Regions from separate parts of the Homo sapiens genome. Here regions 1, 2, 3, 5 and 6 are each linked to region 4. The links are contacts of gene promoters, found by promoter capture Hi-C in blood cells and fetal thymus (Javierre and others, 2016). All regions are on one chromosome and are shown on one strand. The core of a region is centred on a gene start or on the middle of the fragment in contact, and the rest is flanking DNA. Distances in the headings are between cores, read along the strand shown.

Region 1 (2,700 bases), core at 157-2,656, 540 kb before region 4:
TCAGTCTTACTCTCTACTCATGTTACATCTAGACAGATACATGTATATATCAGTGTATACGCATATGTGTGTATGGAGACAATTAAAAAAAGGAACATCTGCCACTACCAAGAAACAATACATGGTTATGCAAGAAAATGCATTTATGCTATCTAAGAGGAAGAGTATGACAAGCTAATTTGTGTTTTCTCTTACCCAAGTGCTTCTGTAGCTCGAACACACTCTACGTAGCATTTCAAAAACAGTGTGCCTATTTCTCTTAAGTAGCACAACCCAAAACCTTCAAGACATTAGGATGCAGTTGTCTTTCATTTTTTTAATGGTGGTAAAATATGCATAAGGTAAAGCTTATCATTTTATCCATTTTTAAGTGTATAGTTCAGTGGCATTAAGTACATTCACATTGTTGTGCAAGCATCACCACCCTCCATCACCGTAACTTTTTCATCTTCCCAAACTGAAATTCTACATCCATTAAACAATAACTCTGCTGGCCTCTCTCTCCCCCAGCCCCTGGCAACCACCATTATTCTTTCTTACTCTATGAATTTGACTACTCTATATACCTCATATAAGTGGACTCATACAACATTTGTCTTTTTATGATGCTTGTTTCACTTAGCATAATCAACATTTATCCATGTTGTAGCACGTGTCAGAATTTCCTCCCTCCCCCTGTTTTTTCAGGAATGAATTTCTTTCCTTTTTAAGGTTGAATAACATTCCATTGCATGTCTATACCACATTCATTTATTTATTCATTCATTCATGGACATTTGGGTCATTTTTATCGTTTGGTTATTATGAATAACAGTGTTGTGAACACAAATGTACAAATATTTGTTCATGTCTCTGGTTTCAATTCTTTTGGTGCCTTTCAGCTTTGAGTATATGGAGCAAGAGACGTGATAAAGAGGTTCCCTAAAGCCTGAATAGTAGTGGTAAAGAAAGCAAATATTTATCCGGGTGTGGTGATGCACACCTGCAATCCCAGATACTCAGGAGACTGAGGCAGAAGAATCTCTTGAACCCAGGAGGCAGAAATTCTAGTGAGTTGAGATCACCCCACTGCACTCCAGTCTAGTGACAAAGGGGAAACTCCGTCAAAAAAAAAAAAAAAGAAGAAGAAGAAGAAAGAAGGAAAGAAAGAAAGAAACAAAGAAACAAAGGAAGAAAGAAAAGAATAGAAATGGAAAAAAGCTAGGCTTGTTGTTGCATTTCTGTAGTCTCAGCTACTCAAGAGACTGACGTGAGAGGCTTGCTTGAGTCCAGGAAGGCCAAGGCTGCAGTGAGCTGTGATCATACCACTGCATTTCAGCATGGGTGACAGAGTGAGACCCTGCCTCAAGAAAGCAAATATTTAAGATTGTACTTGTGCTGAGTGCTGGATTTCAAATGATAGGGGTGCCCATGTGTTCTTTAATATAGTTACTGTGTGTGTGTGTGTGTGTGTGCATGTGTGTGTGTGTAAGAAAGAGAGAGAGAGGTTTGTGTAGTCCTCTAAAGTGTGGGACCCAGGGCAGGGCCCTTGTTGCCTGGACTTAGGGTGGTATTGTCATAAGCACATACATGTATTAGAACTGGGTGAGTGTAGCAGTGAGTGTAGATAGAAAAGAAGTTGACAGACTATGCCTGGGACACTTAGAAATCACAAAGAAAAGAGAGAATAAAAGAAAAGAAATCAAGAAAAAAAACACCAGGAGAATGTGCAGACTTGGAATCCAAGTGAAATTAAATGTTGGGGAATTATCGACAATGCCAAATACTGCTAAGAGATTGACTAAACAAGGACTGATAATTCACCTTTGGACACACACAAAAGTAGAACTCACTGGTGGTGTTAAAATGAGCTGTTTCATTGACTGGTGGGGATAAAACCTGACTGAGAAGAGTTCAAGTAAGAATGAGAAGAGGGTAAGTAGAAACAGAAGGTCTGGCCAGCTCTTTAGAGAAGTTTTTCTATAAAAGGAAGCAAAGAAGTGGGATGGAAGCTAGATGAAGATGTGGTGGAGTCACTAGAGATTTATTTTTCTTTTTGCCTAACAGAGGTGGAACAGCTGATGGCCCCACATCTTCAGCTGAAGCTCCACAGTCACACATACAAGTGCCTATCTGGCATCTCCATTTAAATGTCTCATAGGAACTCACAGGAAAATCAAACTTAACCTGTTCCAAATAGAACTCTTGATTCTCCCTCACTCTATCCCCAGTCTGTTCTTTCCTAAGCCTTCCTTTTCTCAATAAACATCATTGCCCACCATTCAAACCAAAAGCCATGTAGCCATTCCAGATTATTTCAATTTCCTCAAAAACAGTGCATCAGCCTGTTAGTTCTACTTCCAAAATACATCTCTAACTTGATCATCTGGAGTACTACAATAGGTTCCCTGCTTTCATTCTCGCCTCTCACCACCTATTCTCACATGGCAGCAAGAGTGTAAACCAGACAAAGTTACACCTCCACTTAAAGCTTTGATTACTCAGTAAAACAATGATTACTCAGTACACTTCAAATCCCCACTGCTTACCTTGAGCTATACTGTCCTACATGACCTGGCTCTTTGCTCCTTCTCCAATCTCATCTTCACTTCTTTCTCTCTCTTGCACCATACTCCAGACATGCTGGCCTAAACCTAATTATTTGTATTACAAAGATATAAAAAAATAGAGAATAATATTTATATATATATACATATATAT
Region 2 (2,819 bases), core at 310-2,809, 560 kb before region 4:
CCGCGCCCAGCCGGACACCTAGTTTTTTTAAAATGCAGATATCAGAGACTTTCCCTTTCCTTTCAGCATTCTTCCCCACGTTCATCCTCCAATTTCTATCATGTGTAGTTTCACTTTTACAAGATCAAGATGGAAAACATTTACATTCAGTCTTTCGTGCTTTGTCTATAAGCTGATGCCAAGTTGAAATCAGCAGGGACTACTTCCATTGACTATGTAATTATGCAGAGCAAAGCCAAACCATTAATTATAATTTATATAAATTAATTTATTTCCTTTCTTGCTTAGGGTTTTATTTTTTTAATTATTGTCAAAGCTGTTTATGACAAAATATGAGCAAAGGAAGCCATTTTTCCCCTACTGACAGGAAATAAACTAGACTTTTTTTTACAAGATCACTTAACCAGTGTCAATGGATGTAAAAATTCAAAGAGGGATGAATAAATTCAAATCTTATTTTTGTATTTATTTATAAAAATAAATAACAATAAATATAAATTTTATATTTATTATAAAAATAAATATAAATTTTATATTTATTATAAAAATAAATATAAATTTAAGGTATTCGATAACTTATGGGACGTCTCAATTTGTGCTTTAAGGGCGCACGGCGCAGAGAGGCGCAGCAGAGGTTTTCCAGGTTCCGGATGCCAGGGGCCGGATGGTGAACTCCTCCCTGCAGCGAATCCTCAAAAGCCACTGCTTTGCCAGAGAGAAGAAAGGGGATCAAAGCCAGCGCCACCGTCCACGCCAGCCGCACCAGGCCGCTCCTCAGCCTGCACAGCCGCAGCGGCCGCAGCAGCAAGAGTTCCAGGGTCTCCCTCCGCTGCTGTAGTAACCCGGTCCGGGATCTCGGTGGTGCTCCTGATGCCCCTCGCGCACCCCTGATGCCGGTCGCCCACCCCTGAAGATTCCGGGTGGGCGAGGGAATCGTCAGAGGGATCACGATCTTTCAGCTACTCTACTCCTATGATCGACTGCATGTAACAGAGATTCTAACGTTCAACGACAAGAGGATTCTCAACGTCCACTCCAGGCTCACAGATGCCAAACTGGCATTAACTGGCGAGCCGTGCTGAGCGGCGGCAGCCTCTGCATCGGAGATTCCTGGTGGTGCGCTGCCCCAGGGGAGCGAGGATAGCTTTGCAGTTCTCCAGCAGTTCGCCGAGGAGCAGCTGAGCGCCGACCATGTCTTCATTTGCTTCCACAAGAACCACGAGGACAGAGCCGCCTTGCTCCGGACCTTCAGCTTTTGGGGCTTTGAGATTGTGAGACCCCTTGTCCCCAAGAGACCCGACACTTGCTTCATGGCCTACACGTCGGGGAGAGAGTCTTTGGGCGAGGAGTAGTAGCGGCCGCAGCGGGACTGGGCATCAAGCTCCTGGGGCCGCCCCGGCGTCTGCCGGGTGGGTGCGAACGGTAGGCTCGCTCATCTCGCCTGGGTTTATCCACATGTTGTAACTGCAAATGAACGCTAAAAAAAAAAAAAAAAAAAAAAAATTAGCTGGGCGTGGTGGCGCCTGCCTGTAATTTCAGCTACTTGGGAGGCTGAGGCAGGAGAATTGCTTGAACCCAGGAGGCGGAGGTTGTGGTGAACCAAGATCGTGCCGTTGCACTCCAGAATGGGCAACAAGAGTGAAACTCCGTCTCAAAAAAAAAAAAAAAAGAAATGAAAATTGAGACATGATATGCTGGAAGATATAAGTGCCATTAACGAAATAGAGCGGAATAAGAGGGATCAGGAACGTTGGAGAGGGAGGATTGTAATGTTAAATAATTAGGATTTTGATGTAGAATTTTAATTTTATTTAGAATTATTATTTGTATTAGAGTAAGATAAAAATAATGAGATTAGAGTTAAATTGAATCCATGACTCTGAAAAGTCTCATTCAGCCAATGAAATGGTTAAATGTTTGCTTTGTTTTTGGCCCTGCTGACACCCTGCGGTCACTGAAGATGATACATTGCAGCCCTGGTGCCTAAATCCTCCATGTTAACCTTCATAAAAATAGTGGCCAGTGCCAAATCTCCAGGCAGAGAAATGCCTGATATATTTTGTTACTGATGGGAAGGAGGAATTTTTGGGGGGTTTCAAGTATAATGTTGCAGGAGTCAAACAGGAAGGTTTGAGAAGAAAGTTTTCACGCCCAGGGACAGTCAAACCATGACAGGTTGAATATGGAAATCAATGCCTATAATCAACTGGAACAAGTTAAATCTATATATACGCCCTGAATCCAGGATAATATAAAATAAAGAGATGTTAACATGAGATATGGTTAAAATATAGTTACAATGTAGAAGTAAATTATCAATATATGTTTATAAACATTTGAGAATATTATTTATTAAGTCAAATTATGAAAGTTCCACCTTAGAGCTATGGTCATGACTTGAGTAAACAATCACAATTATTACCATATAAGGAAGCACTGTCCAATAGAAATAAAAATGTGAGGCAGTGGTTCACGCCTGTAATCCCAGCACTTTGGGAGGCTGAGGCAGGCGGATCACGAGGTCAGGAGATTGAGACCATCCTGGCTAACACGGTGAAACCCCATCTCTACTAAAAATACAAAAATTAGCTGGGTGTGGTGGCAGGCGCCTGTAATCCCAGCTAGTTGGGAGGCTGAGGGAGAAGAATCGTTTGAATCTCATACTAGGTCTCCTCCTCCTCCTCCTCCTCCTCTTCTTCTTCCTCATACTAAGAATCACTTGAATCTCATAGTAGGTCTCCTCATCCTCCTCTTCCTCCTCCTCCTCTTTCCCCTTCTCCTTCTCTGTCTCCTTCTCCTCCTTCTTTTCTTCTTCAACA
Region 3 (2,700 bases), core at 46-2,545, 590 kb before region 4:
AGACCCCATCTCTACAAAAAAAAAATTTTTTTTTAATTAGCCAGGGGTGGTGGTATGTGCCTGTAATCCTAGCTACTGGGGAGGCTAAGGTGGGAGGATCACTTGAGCCCAGGAGTTCAAGGCTGCATTGAGCTATGATCTCGCCATTGCACTGAGCTATGATCTCGCTGTTGCCCTGGGCAACAGTGAGACCCTGTCTCTCTCAAAAAAGAAAAATGAGGTAAATTTACATAAAGTGACATGAAAAATGCCCTTAATATGTTGTAAAAGAAAAGTCGATTACAAACCCACGGTCTGTAATCTCTTCTATTCCATGCCATTGGGACTAGAGGTAAGTTGTTAGTTGAAAAGTCGATTAAAATGCAGAATCCACTGGGCGCACTTTGGGAGGCTGAGGCAGGTGGATCACCTGAGGTTGGGAGTTTGAGACCAGCCTGGCCAACATGATGAAACCCCATCTCTACTAAAAATACAAAAAATTAGCCGGGCATGGTGGTGGGTGCCTGTAATCCCAGCTACTCAGGAGGCTGAGACAGGAGAATCACTTGAACCCAGGAGGCAGAGGGTGCAGTGAGCCAAGATTGAGCTACTGCACTCCAGCCTGGGCAACAAGAGTGAAACTCTGTCTCAAAGAAAAAAAAATGCAGAATCATAAAGCATTATACAGTACAGTATACAGTTTTGTTTTAAGAAAAATAAGCTTATTGTATAAGCATTTTATTTTAACTTAAGACTTACAAATTGAAGTAGTTTCAGGATTTTTCTGTGAATATAGCCCGCTCAATGAAGTTTCCTGCCTTTAATGAACTATTTATAATTTCTTTAAAGGTTTCTTTAAACTGGAGCAATAACTGAAAGACACTTGTGAAGCAATCTGAATGCAATTTTTTTTTTTTTTTGAGACAGGGTCTTGTTCTGTCCCCCAGACTGGAGTGCAGTGGCGTGATCTTGGCTCACTGTAACCTCCACCTCCCGGGTTCAAGCGATTCTCGTGCCTCTGCCTCCCGAGTAGCTGGGATTACAGACACACCACCAACATGCCCCGCTAATTTTTTGTGTTTTTTGTAGAGACAGGGTTTCGCCATGTTGCCCAGGCTGGTCTCGAACTCCTGAGCTCAGGCAATCCGCCCCCCTCAGCCTCCCAAAGTTCTAGGATCACAGCTGTGAGCCATTGTGCCAGACCAACATTCTTTTTGTTTTTTATTTTTGATTCAGGGTCACATATGCAAGTTTGCTATATAGGTAAGTTGTATGTCAAGGAGGTTGGGTGTACGTTTTATTTTGTCACTGCCATAATGAACATAGTACCCAATAGGTAACTTTTCATTTCCACCCTCATGTAGGCCCCAGTGTCTGTTGTTCCCTTCTTTGTGTCCATCTGTACTTAATGTTTAGCTCCCACTTATAAGTGAGAACATGTGGTATTTGGTTTTGTTTTCCTGCATTAGTTTGCTTAGGATAATGACCTAAGCAGTTCCATCTATGTTGCTGCAAAGGACATTATCTCATTCCTTTTTTGGCTGTGTAGTATGCTATGGTGTATACCTACCACATTTTCTTTATCCAGTCTACTGTTGATGGATACTTAGGTTAATTCCATGTCTTTGCTATTATGAATAGTGCTATGATGACTTTTTTTTTTTTTTTTTTTTTTTGCGACAGGGTCTTGCTCTATTCCCCAAGTTGGACTGCAGTGACACAATCATAGCTTACTGCAGCCTGGAACTCCTGGGCTCAAGGGATCCTCCCGCCTCAGCCTCTCAAAGTGCTGGGATTACAGGTGTGAGCCACAGTGTTTGGATGTGAAATTATTCTAGATGGAAGACTTTCCACTCTCAGATTTCCGACCCAGAGTTACTTTAACAATTTTTTTTAACAACTTGCCTTTAACAAGCTTTTCCAATGCATTCAACTTAGTTTTCACAGAAACATCTCTTTTCTCTTTATGCTCATATTTCATGTTTTCAAAAATTTAACTAAATTATGATAGCAAATATCACCGATATATTAATAAATAAATAAAATAAGCCCAAAGGCATTTAGTAAGCAAGTAGCTCAATTGACAGGAACAGAACTACCCAAGAGTTCTGAAAAGCAGCCTCTAGCCATGTGGGCATGCTGTGGGCATAGGTAAGTAGGTAAGTACATTTTAGAACTGGGAGAGTAAGTTAAACAGGGCATAAGAAAATAACTATGTATTTATGTACATACATATATGATGGTTGTACAACTCTATAAATTTACTAAAAATCATTGGTTTGTACACATAAAATGGGTGACTTTTATGGCATGTGGAATATATTTCAATAAAGCTGTTCTTTTTTTAAAGAAGACATCTGTGTATTTATATATTTGTACATTATCACTGAAAGGTCAAAGCATTGCCAAGAAAAAAGAGGCTGGGTGCGGTGGCTCACGCCTGTAATCCCAGCACTTTGGGAGGCTGAGGCGGGTGGATCACGAGGTCAGGAGATCGAGACCATCCTGGCTAACACGGTGAAACCCCGTCTCTACTAAAAAATACAAAAAATTAGCCGGGCGTGGTGGCAGGCACCTGTAGTCCCAGCTACTCGGGAGGCTGAGGCAGGAGAATGGTGTGAGCCCGGGAGGCGGAGCTTGCAGTGAGCCAAGATCGAGCCACTGCACTCCAGCCTGGGCGACAGAGCGAGACCCCATCTTAAAAAAAAAAAAAAGAAAGAA
Region 4 (2,700 bases), core at 53-2,552:
CCCATGCTAGAGTGCAGCGAGACACTCGTAGCTCTTACCAGTAACTTCTTTATAACACTTTTGCAATTTACGAAGCACTCTCACATTATTTCATTCACTCTCCCCAACATTACCAAAAGTTAGGAATTAGATCTTTTTACAGATGAAGGAATTGAGACTCCCTGAAGTCAAGTGTCTTATAGTTAGGTTTTGTTCATTCATTCATCAAATAGAGTGCCTGATGTGAGATTTATTGAAACTGGATTTGAAAACAATTTTCCTGAATTCAAGTCGAGGGTTTACTCCACTATTCTCAATTACTTTATCACCAGGGTTATAAACCCAAAGGAAGTGAGTAACAACAGTGTGATTTTATTGAGGACCCATGCAACACTAGTCTCAGAAAGGCTCCAGTGTCATTTGTAAAATTCAAGGTTACCATCAGCAGAGGCAGTCATTCCTCTCTGCGCTTGTTACCTAATGCACTAACTCTCACTGTAGGTAATTCCATTCAAGACACATTTGATGACTATACCTACAGGTTTTGAAGTTATTCGGATGGGGTTTTGACACTTACTAGCTGTGGGGACTTAGATCAAGTTACTTAACCTTTTTGAGCTTCAGTTTTATCATTTGTAAAATGGATACAATCCTGATGCCTTTGGACCAAGTGGTCACGGAAATGAAAGAGATAAGTATGAAAAAATCCATGCTCATAGTAGCTGTGGTTTCCAACTGCGTGATAAAACTTTAAAATCTGCATTCAAATAAGAACAACTATGTCGACGTAAGGTTACAAGCTAACTATTCTTGGTAAGTACTGTTCTTTATTCTAGAGGACATCACTTTACAGTTTGGTGCTAAATGCTCTTTTATGAATTTAAGGTGCCAGTAGCTGTCTACTTGAACGGCATGCTTAATCTGGAACGCCATGTCGACCTTCATCCCCCAGTTCTTTCTCCCCAAATTAAAAACACAAATACACACACACGCCCCTACTTAGTTCCTAAAACTCAAGGGCACGCGCACACACCTACTTATTTCCTAAAATTCAAGCTCGCACCAAGGAGATCCACAAGGATAGGCAGGGTGGTGGAGGTCACTGGGCAGCGCCTCCGGATCCCCCGAAAGGGGGCGGGGTCAAAACTCAGATCTCGAGCTCCCGAAAGGGGGCGGGGTTAAAACTCTCAGATCTCATTCCGCCTCCCTCTGTCGTCGCCCCTTCCCAATTCTCGCGAGACCTCAAGGAGCACAGCTTCTGCGCACCGCACGATACTGGGAGTCCAGGCGCCAAGGGAGGGGGAAGGGAAAAGGGGAAACGGTGCAAACGGCGTGGCCGCCATCTTGCTTGTGCCCCCGCTTCGCGCGCGCTCCGTTCTCCGTGACGCACACTTCCCCCTCCCCTCCGCCGCGCCTGGGCCTCTGCATTGCCCGACTCCGTAGGAGCGCGGGGGCGGCTCCTGCTCTTCCTGGACTCCTGAGCAGAGGTGTGTGAGTGTGCGGGAGTTTCTGTGCGAGGGTGATAGGGAAGCGGCGGCGGGGGGAGGGGCAGCGCTTCCCGCCTTCGCCAGAGACCTCACTTCCTCGCGCGGCCGCTGCTGTAGCTCGGTCCGTCCTGCCCGCCGCCATGTTGTGCTCTTGCCTGGCCCGCTGCTGTCGCCGCCGCCGCGCTCGTGGGGTCCGTGTGCCTCGTCGGCCCGGCCCGCGGGCTTTCTCCCATTGGCGGAAGGCGACGGCGGGGGGGCTCGCTCGTGATTGGTCGGTGGCGGGGAGGCCGCGGACCTGGCACCTTATTGGACGCGCCAGCTCCGGTCTAGGGGGTGATGAAGGAATCTGAGGCTGCGGGGATGCGCGCGTCTTGGGCTAGGGCGGCTGGGGCAATGACCCCCTGCGGCGCAGGCGTGGGGTTGCGGCGAGAGGGCGAGCCTAGAGGCTTTAAGGGGGAAGAGAGGGTGATGGCCTGGCAGGTACTTTGGGGGTAGCTTAGGCCATGGCCTGGGAATGGGGGACACTCACTTTCAGAGGTGCTTTTCCTGGTACATGCATGGCCCAAGATTGGGGTGTGCAGGCCCTCAGGGTTCCAGGCTTGGAAACACCGAAACCCAAGTGACAGGCTGAGAGTCTTCGAGATCCAGGGTTGCTAATGTGACCCAGTTTGGAAGTGGCCCTGAAGTCCACGGTGTGAGTGTATGGTGTAGGAAGAAAGGCATCAGGGCTAGGGGCATAGCTGAACGGTAGAATCGGATCAGGGATTTTGCTGGAGAGTGCAAGCATTCAAACACTGAGGTTTTGGTGGAGCCCTGGAGTCCAGAGTCAACGGACCTGGGATGTGATGTGAGGAGCAAGTAAACCGAGAGAGGAATGCTATTGAGAAGTGTGCTCTGTCCGAGCCTAGGAAGCACAGCATTAAGTAGTATCAGATTTAAAGTGACAAAATCTGATATAGGAAGCATTTTAGGGGACATTTTCGGACTTGGGAAGTGTATTAATAGAACAGTTATACATTATTGAGTCTCAGGACCATACAAGTAGTTTTGAGATGTTGTATATGAAATTTGCTGCTCTAGGAAGGATACAGGTCATGGCTGAGTTTCCAAAGCCACATTAGCAAATATTAGGTAGTTGGTAGTTATTTGTTGAGTAAATATTGTTAGGTTCCCCTTTAAGGGAAAGGGAGCTAGCCAGAAATTTTCGGTCTTGGTTTATTTCCTTGTATATGTG
Region 5 (2,845 bases), core at 226-2,725, 610 kb before region 4:
CCAGAGTAGCTGGGATTACAGGTGATCGCCACCACATCCAGCTAATTTTGTATTTTTAGTAGAGACAGGGTTTCACTATGCTGGCCAGGCTGGTCTCGAACTCCTGACCTCAAGTGATCTGCCCACCTCGGCCTCCCAAAGTGCTGGGATTACAGGCGTGAGCCACCACGCCCGGCCTTCTATAGGCTTTTCTTACCATCCTATCTGACTGACATGCCACTGAGCATGGCATACAGGTACAACTATGAGTTTACACCACACTCCATAGGTGTCCATCACATAGGTGAGAGGCTTCTAGTCAGAGAAAGCCAAGACAAAATAAGAAACTGCAAATTCTGGGTCGTTCTGCTATATACTATTCTGTGTTGTTTTTTGTTTGGTTTGTTTTTCCCTTCAAACTGTTTCAAAACAAAAAACCAAAAGACTCTCCAGATGAGTCAAATATAAACTGAGCCATCTAGTTTACCAGAACCTACCAAACCATGTTTGTGTCTGGGACATACTCAGTGCCTACTGTATCTCTCTTTTAGGTAAATCTCTAGAGAAAAATCCACCCCCAGACTGATCCATCAGGAAAGCTTCCCTCATTAAGACAGCAGCTGTGAATTTCCACCTCGCCCAGTCAGCAACCTGCCGAGCTTATCCTGTGTGTTTCAACACTAGGAGAGGGAAAGAACTTAAGGGAAGAAAGGCAAATGAATTTCAACCTCCCTAAAGGGAACTGAATCTCAAAGGCCCTGCCTCCCAAAAAAAACAGAACTTCTCTTTCCTAGTGTCTGCCCAGGACAGTTTGGGTAAACAGTCACTGCTGATTTGTTTATGAAGACCTAAACAGGAAAAAGAACGCACATCTATGGGAGCCCGGTTTGGGTGCTTACCCGCTCCTGATTTATATCTGCCAAGAAGATGCTGTGGTTGCGATACACATCCTCCTTTATGGGGTCATGCCAGTATTCGGCTTGCACGAGGCTGTAGGAAAAAAAAAGAATGAGGTGATCAAGCTACAGGTCAGTCAGTACGCCCAGGGCATGCTCAGTGCAAAGGCCACCAAGAGACTTTAAAAGGACAAAAGGCCAGCCAGGCACAGTGGCTCACACCTGTAATCCCAGCACTTTGGGAGGCTGAGGCAGGTGGATCACGAGGTCAGGAGTTCAAGACCAGCCTAGCCAAGATGGTGAAACCCCGTCTCTACTAAAACTACAAAAATTAGCCAGGCGCGGCGGCAGGCGCCTGTAATCCTAGCTACTTGGGAGGCTGAGGCAGGAGAACTGCTAGAACCCCGGCGGCAGAGGTTGCAGTGAGCTGAGATCGCAGCACTGCACTTCAGCCTGTGCGACAGAGTGAGACTCTGTCTCAAAAAACAAGGACAAAAGGCCAAAGCCCTCAAGTCCCAGGCCTTACCCTTTAATACAGAAGACAAGACTTGCACCTAGGAAACAGTCTGTCAACAAGACACCTTGTTGAGACAGACTGTTCAGCATAGTACAGAAATTATAAAAGATTCAGGCAAAGGACTCATCAATATTTGCTTCTCCTGTGACACTGGGGTTTATCATACTTATCATGCTGATATGGTTTGGCTGTGTCCTCACCCAAATCTCATCTTGAATTGTAACTCCCACAATTCCCATATGTCATGGGAGGTGACTGAATTACAGGGGTGGGTCTTTCCTGTGCTGTTCTCGTGACAGTGAATAAGTCTCATGAGATCTGATGGTTTCAAAGAGGGGAGTTGGGCCAGATTCTGTGGCTCATGCTTATAATCCCAGCACTTTGGGAGGCCAAGGCGGGCAGATCGCCTGAGGTCAGGAGTTCGAAACCAACCTGGCCAACATGAGGAAACCCCGTCTCTACTAAAAATACAAAAATTAGCCAGGCACGGTGGCATGTGCCTGTAATCCCAGCTACTTGGGAGGCAGAGGGAGGGAGAATCGCTTGAACCTGGGAAGCTGAGGTTGCAGTGAGCCAAGATCACGCCATTGCACTCCAGCCTGGGAGACAGAGCGAGAATCCATCTCAAAAAATAAATAAATAAATAAATAAATAAATAGAAAATAAAATTAAGAGGGGAGTTTCCCTGCCCAAGCTCTCTTCTTTTGTCTACCGTCATGTGAGATGTGCCTTTCGCCTTCCGCCATGATTGTGAGGCTTCCCCAGCCACATGGAACTGTAAGTCCATTATAAACCTCTATTTGCCCAGTCTCGGGTATGTCTTTATCGGTAGCATGAAAACAGACTAATACAGTAAATAAGTACCAGTAGAGTGGGGTGCTGCTGAAAAGTTACCCAAAATGTGGAAGTGACTTTGGAACTGGGTAACAGGCAGAGGCTGGCACAGTTTGGAGGCCTCAGAAGAAGACAGGAAAATGTGGGAAAGCTTGGAACTTTCTAGAGACTTGTTGAATGGCTTTGACCAAAAGCCTGATAGTGATATAGACAATAAGGTCCAGGCTGAGGTAGTCTCAGATGGAGATGAGGAACTTGCTGGGAACTGGAGCAAAGGGGACTCTTTATACTTTCTTTCCAATCTCTCTCCACTTCCTCTTCCCTTCCAGCCCCCACCTCCTCAAAATGGGCACGGTTACCCCAAGGCCTCACATGGGGAAATTCGAACAAACTCTATCCCAGGTTGGCAGGGAGAGAAATCAAAATTTCTACAACATACGCTCCGTAGCCAGAGTGGAAGAGCTGCCCAGAGGCAGTGGTCCTGAAAACGCCACTCGGTGGAGCAGGCTGGCGCTAAAGCCCAACAGAGCCAGCTACGTCAGAGATGGAGCTCTCCCTCCCAGGAGCAGATGAGACTGAAGTTAAAGGAAGCAACAGTCAGAGTGACATTCTAGAATGT
Region 6 (2,867 bases), core at 147-2,646, 630 kb before region 4:
TTTTTACTTAATACAGTTCTGTAACATTTGAAAAAACTTTAAAACATTTATCATTTGTATTTTAAAAATGCAAATCCAGAAAAAATAGATTGCTTTCTTTGAATTTTTGTATTTTAATAGTGCTTACAGTCTCATGTTTCTTAAATTCTTTTGACTGCGAATGACCCTTAGAAAGAAAGAACATATTCGTAACTGAGATAAAAGTTTCACAAGATGATATTTATACTACTTCTGCTGTACTTTTTTTTTTTTTAACTTTTTATTTGGAAATAACTTGAAGTTGGTGCACTGCACTCATACTTTTGTTCCATTAAGCTCACTAAATTGATTTAATTATTTATTAATGGGTCATGGTATCTGGCATTTGAGAGATAGCTTTAATCTAAAGGAGTAAATACCTTGAGAATTTTCAGCAGAAATTTAGGCCTTTGCCTTTACTCCTGTCTCCAATTTTTGAGAAAAGAAAGGTGTTTTTTTGGTTGCTGTTTGTTTTATTTTGCTGATGTGAAATAGGAAGGATTTTTCAGTGCACGGTATCACAATGCATGTGTAAGATGCTAACATGACTTCATGTAAGCTAGGTGATTATCCAATTAACTTCACTTCCAACTCTGGATATATATCCCTGATGAGTTCCAATAGGAACAGTAGTGTATGTAATTCTGCTCTCAGTCCCTGGAATCTGGAATACATGAGGAGGATAACATGAAGTGCCTGGGTTGCTATCAGAGTACATGGAAGTAGAGGTTTCAGGTTATTCTTATCAAGACTTCTCTAGTTATAATGTGTCATCAATAGCTGATTCTTCTTTCTGGCAGGCGGAGATGGTCCACACAGGTTTGAAGTTGGAGCGAGCTCTGTTGGTTACAGCTTCTCAGTGTCAACAGCCAGCAGAAGTAAGTTCACTACTAGCTGGTTTCATTTTGGTTTGATGCTCAGGACGAGTTGAGAGATTTATGTCAAGCTATTATAACATTTTAAAATAGACCTACTAGGCTTTTGATAATATATGTTCATACCAAGTCCCAGAGGTAGAGCCATACTTCAAGTGCCTTAATGGGAAGGTACTATTGGGTACTTAATGGTCTCTACTGGCTTTTTCTCTGTCATTTTGCATAGGACTGTGGTTATCCCTGGGACTTTGCTTGCCTGCCTCTTTGCTGAGTCCACATTCATCATAGTGTCTCCAAAGCCCTTTAAAGATGATTCTCTTGCTTCACTGTGGATGGGCTTTAGTAGTGCTCCTGTGGAGATCTTAAAACTCCTACAGTATTGCTTCTCTCCTCATCCTTCACTGGTTGGGAGACTCTCTCTTTAATTTTACTCCCACCTCAAAATTTTATGGTGCAAGATGTGAAAAGTTGAATTAGAGAAAATTTAGATTTCTCTTGGAGTCAAAGAATATAGGTTTCCTTCTTTTGCATTTGGTTTTCCTAGTTACAGAGGAATAATAAAGCAAGTTGTCCTAAATGCTGTATTAAAACCCTTGACCCTCAGCATGCCTAGATAATATAAAAATAGTGCAAGATAATGTCAAATATATTAGATTCTGGTTAAGTGTGCTGGCTCATTCCTGTAATCCCAGCACTTTGGGAGGCTGAGGCAGGAGGATCACTTGAGGCCAGGAGTTTGAGACCAGCCTGGGCAACATAGCAAGACCTCGTCTCTATTAAAAATTAAAAAAATAAAATAAATAAAAATAGCCAGGCAAGGTGGTGCATGCGTATAGTCCCAGCTACTTGAGAGGCTGAAATGGGAGGAAGATTTGGGCCTGAAAGTTTGAGGATGCAGTGAGCCATGAACACACCACTGCACTCCAGCCTGGGCGACAGAGCAAGACCTTCTCTCAAAAAACATTGTGTGTGTGTGTGTGTGTGTGTGTATAGATGCCATCTAATTCTAATATGTAGAATTAGATTTTAATTCTTAATCTGTCCTGAATGGTTAAGATCTGAGAATTGAGATGTTCAGGAAATGGAGCTTTGGAGGAAGGGTGCAAACACAAACAAAATTCATCCATTTTGCCAAGGTGCCTACTTGAATGCTAAGCCCCTAATTGTTTTTTATTTTATTTATGTTTAAAAAAAAATTTTTTTTTTGAGACAGGGTGTTGTTTTGTCACCCAGACTGGAGGGTAGTGGTGCAATCACAGCTCACTGAAGCCTTGACCTCCCAGGTGTAATGATCCTCCCACCTCAGCCTCCTGAGTAGCCTTGACTACAGTGTGCACCACCATGCCTGGCTTGCTTATTTACTTACTTATTTATTTATTTATTTCTGAGATGGAGTTTCTCTCTGTCGCCCAGGCTGGAGTGCAGTGGCAGGATCTCGGCTCACTGAAACCTCCACCTCCCAGGCTCAAGTGATTCTCCCACCTCAGCCTCCTGAATAGCTGGGACTACAGGCATGCGCCACCATGCCCAGCTGATTTTTGTATTTTTATAGAGATGGGGTTTCCCCATGTTGCCCAGGCTGATCTTAAACTCCTGGACTCAAGCGATCTGCCCACCTTGGCCTCCCAAAGTGCTGGGATTACAGGCGTGAGCCACCATGCCTGGCCCTAATTCTTTTTATTATTTGTAGAGACAAAGTTGTGCTGTGTTGTTCAGTCTGTCTTGAACTCCTGGTCTCAAGCAGTTCTCCTGCCTTGGCCTCCCAAAGTGCTGGGATTACAGGCGTGGGTCACCATGCCCAGACTAAGCCCCCTAATTGCATTTGATTCATCAGTTCTTTACAGCAGCTACTATATGGCTGGCAATGCATTGGGGGCTTTCATGATGATAAAAGAGCTCGTCTTTGAAGAATTAATGAGAAAGTAAAACATATTCACATGGGTCCATTAATAGTTTGTATTGGTGAGTGATAAA

The links. The method cuts DNA at HindIII sites, captures the fragments that hold promoters and counts their contacts. A CHiCAGO score of 5 or more calls a contact.
Region 1: a fragment that was not itself captured here is called in contact with the fragment with the promoter of NFYC in region 4 in 1 of 17 cell types (neutrophils); the score reaches 5.9 in neutrophils.
Region 2: a fragment that was not itself captured here is called in contact with the fragment with the promoter of NFYC in region 4 in 1 of 17 cell types (neutrophils); the score reaches 5.3 in neutrophils.
Region 3: a fragment that was not itself captured here is called in contact with the fragment with the promoter of NFYC in region 4 in 1 of 17 cell types (neutrophils); the score reaches 5.7 in neutrophils.
Region 5: a contact is called between a fragment that was not itself captured here and the fragment with the promoter of NFYC in region 4, in 1 of 17 cell types (neutrophils). The highest score is 5.8, in neutrophils.
Region 6: a fragment that was not itself captured here is called in contact with the fragment with the promoter of NFYC in region 4 in 1 of 17 cell types (neutrophils); the score reaches 5.5 in neutrophils.

What each region holds. Positions count from the first base shown.
Region 1 is chr1:40,155,213-40,157,912 of GRCh38, forward strand. It overlaps LOC105378671 (a long non-coding RNA gene), which reads right to left. Exons shown (of 3, transcript XR_947232.3): 2 at 2,529-2,633. Among named protein-coding and RNA genes, the nearest start is that of RLF, 4.8 kb to the right of the region's middle. The HindIII fragment of the contact is 2,123 bases long and covers 346-2,468 here.
Region 2 is chr1:40,132,098-40,134,916 of GRCh38, forward strand. It overlaps the pseudogene OAZ1P1. Among named protein-coding and RNA genes, the nearest start is that of RLF, 28 kb to the right of the region's middle. RefSeq lists an enhancer at 788-1,287. The HindIII fragment of the contact is 4,652 bases long and covers 1-2,819 here.
Region 3 is chr1:40,098,544-40,101,243 of GRCh38, forward strand. No RefSeq gene overlaps it. Among named protein-coding and RNA genes, the nearest start is that of PPT1, 2.6 kb to the left of the region's middle. The HindIII fragment of the contact is 1,194 bases long and covers 699-1,892 here.
Region 4 is chr1:40,690,402-40,693,101 of GRCh38, forward strand. NFYC (nuclear transcription factor Y subunit gamma) reads left to right here and starts at 1,303. Exons shown (of 10, transcript NM_014223.5): 1 at 1,303-1,466. NFYC-AS1 (NFYC antisense RNA 1) reads right to left here and starts at 1,860. Exons shown (of 1, transcript NR_024567.1): 1 at 1-1,860. It also overlaps a transcript of RIMS3 not described here. RefSeq lists a silencer at 1,711-1,810 and enhancers at 2,051-2,220, 2,241-2,290. The HindIII fragment of the contact is 4,450 bases long and covers 1-2,700 here.
Region 5 is chr1:40,079,519-40,082,363 of GRCh38, forward strand. It overlaps PPT1 (palmitoyl-protein thioesterase 1), which reads right to left. Exons shown (of 9, transcript NM_000310.4): 6 at 879-969. Among named protein-coding and RNA genes, the nearest start is that of PPT1, 16 kb to the right of the region's middle. The HindIII fragment of the contact is 1,799 bases long and covers 577-2,375 here.
Region 6 is chr1:40,060,917-40,063,783 of GRCh38, forward strand. CAP1 (cyclase associated actin cytoskeleton regulatory protein 1) reads left to right here. Exons shown (of 13, transcript NM_006367.4): 4 at 819-896. Among named protein-coding and RNA genes, the nearest start is that of CAP1, 22 kb to the left of the region's middle. The HindIII fragment of the contact is 3,835 bases long and covers 1-2,867 here.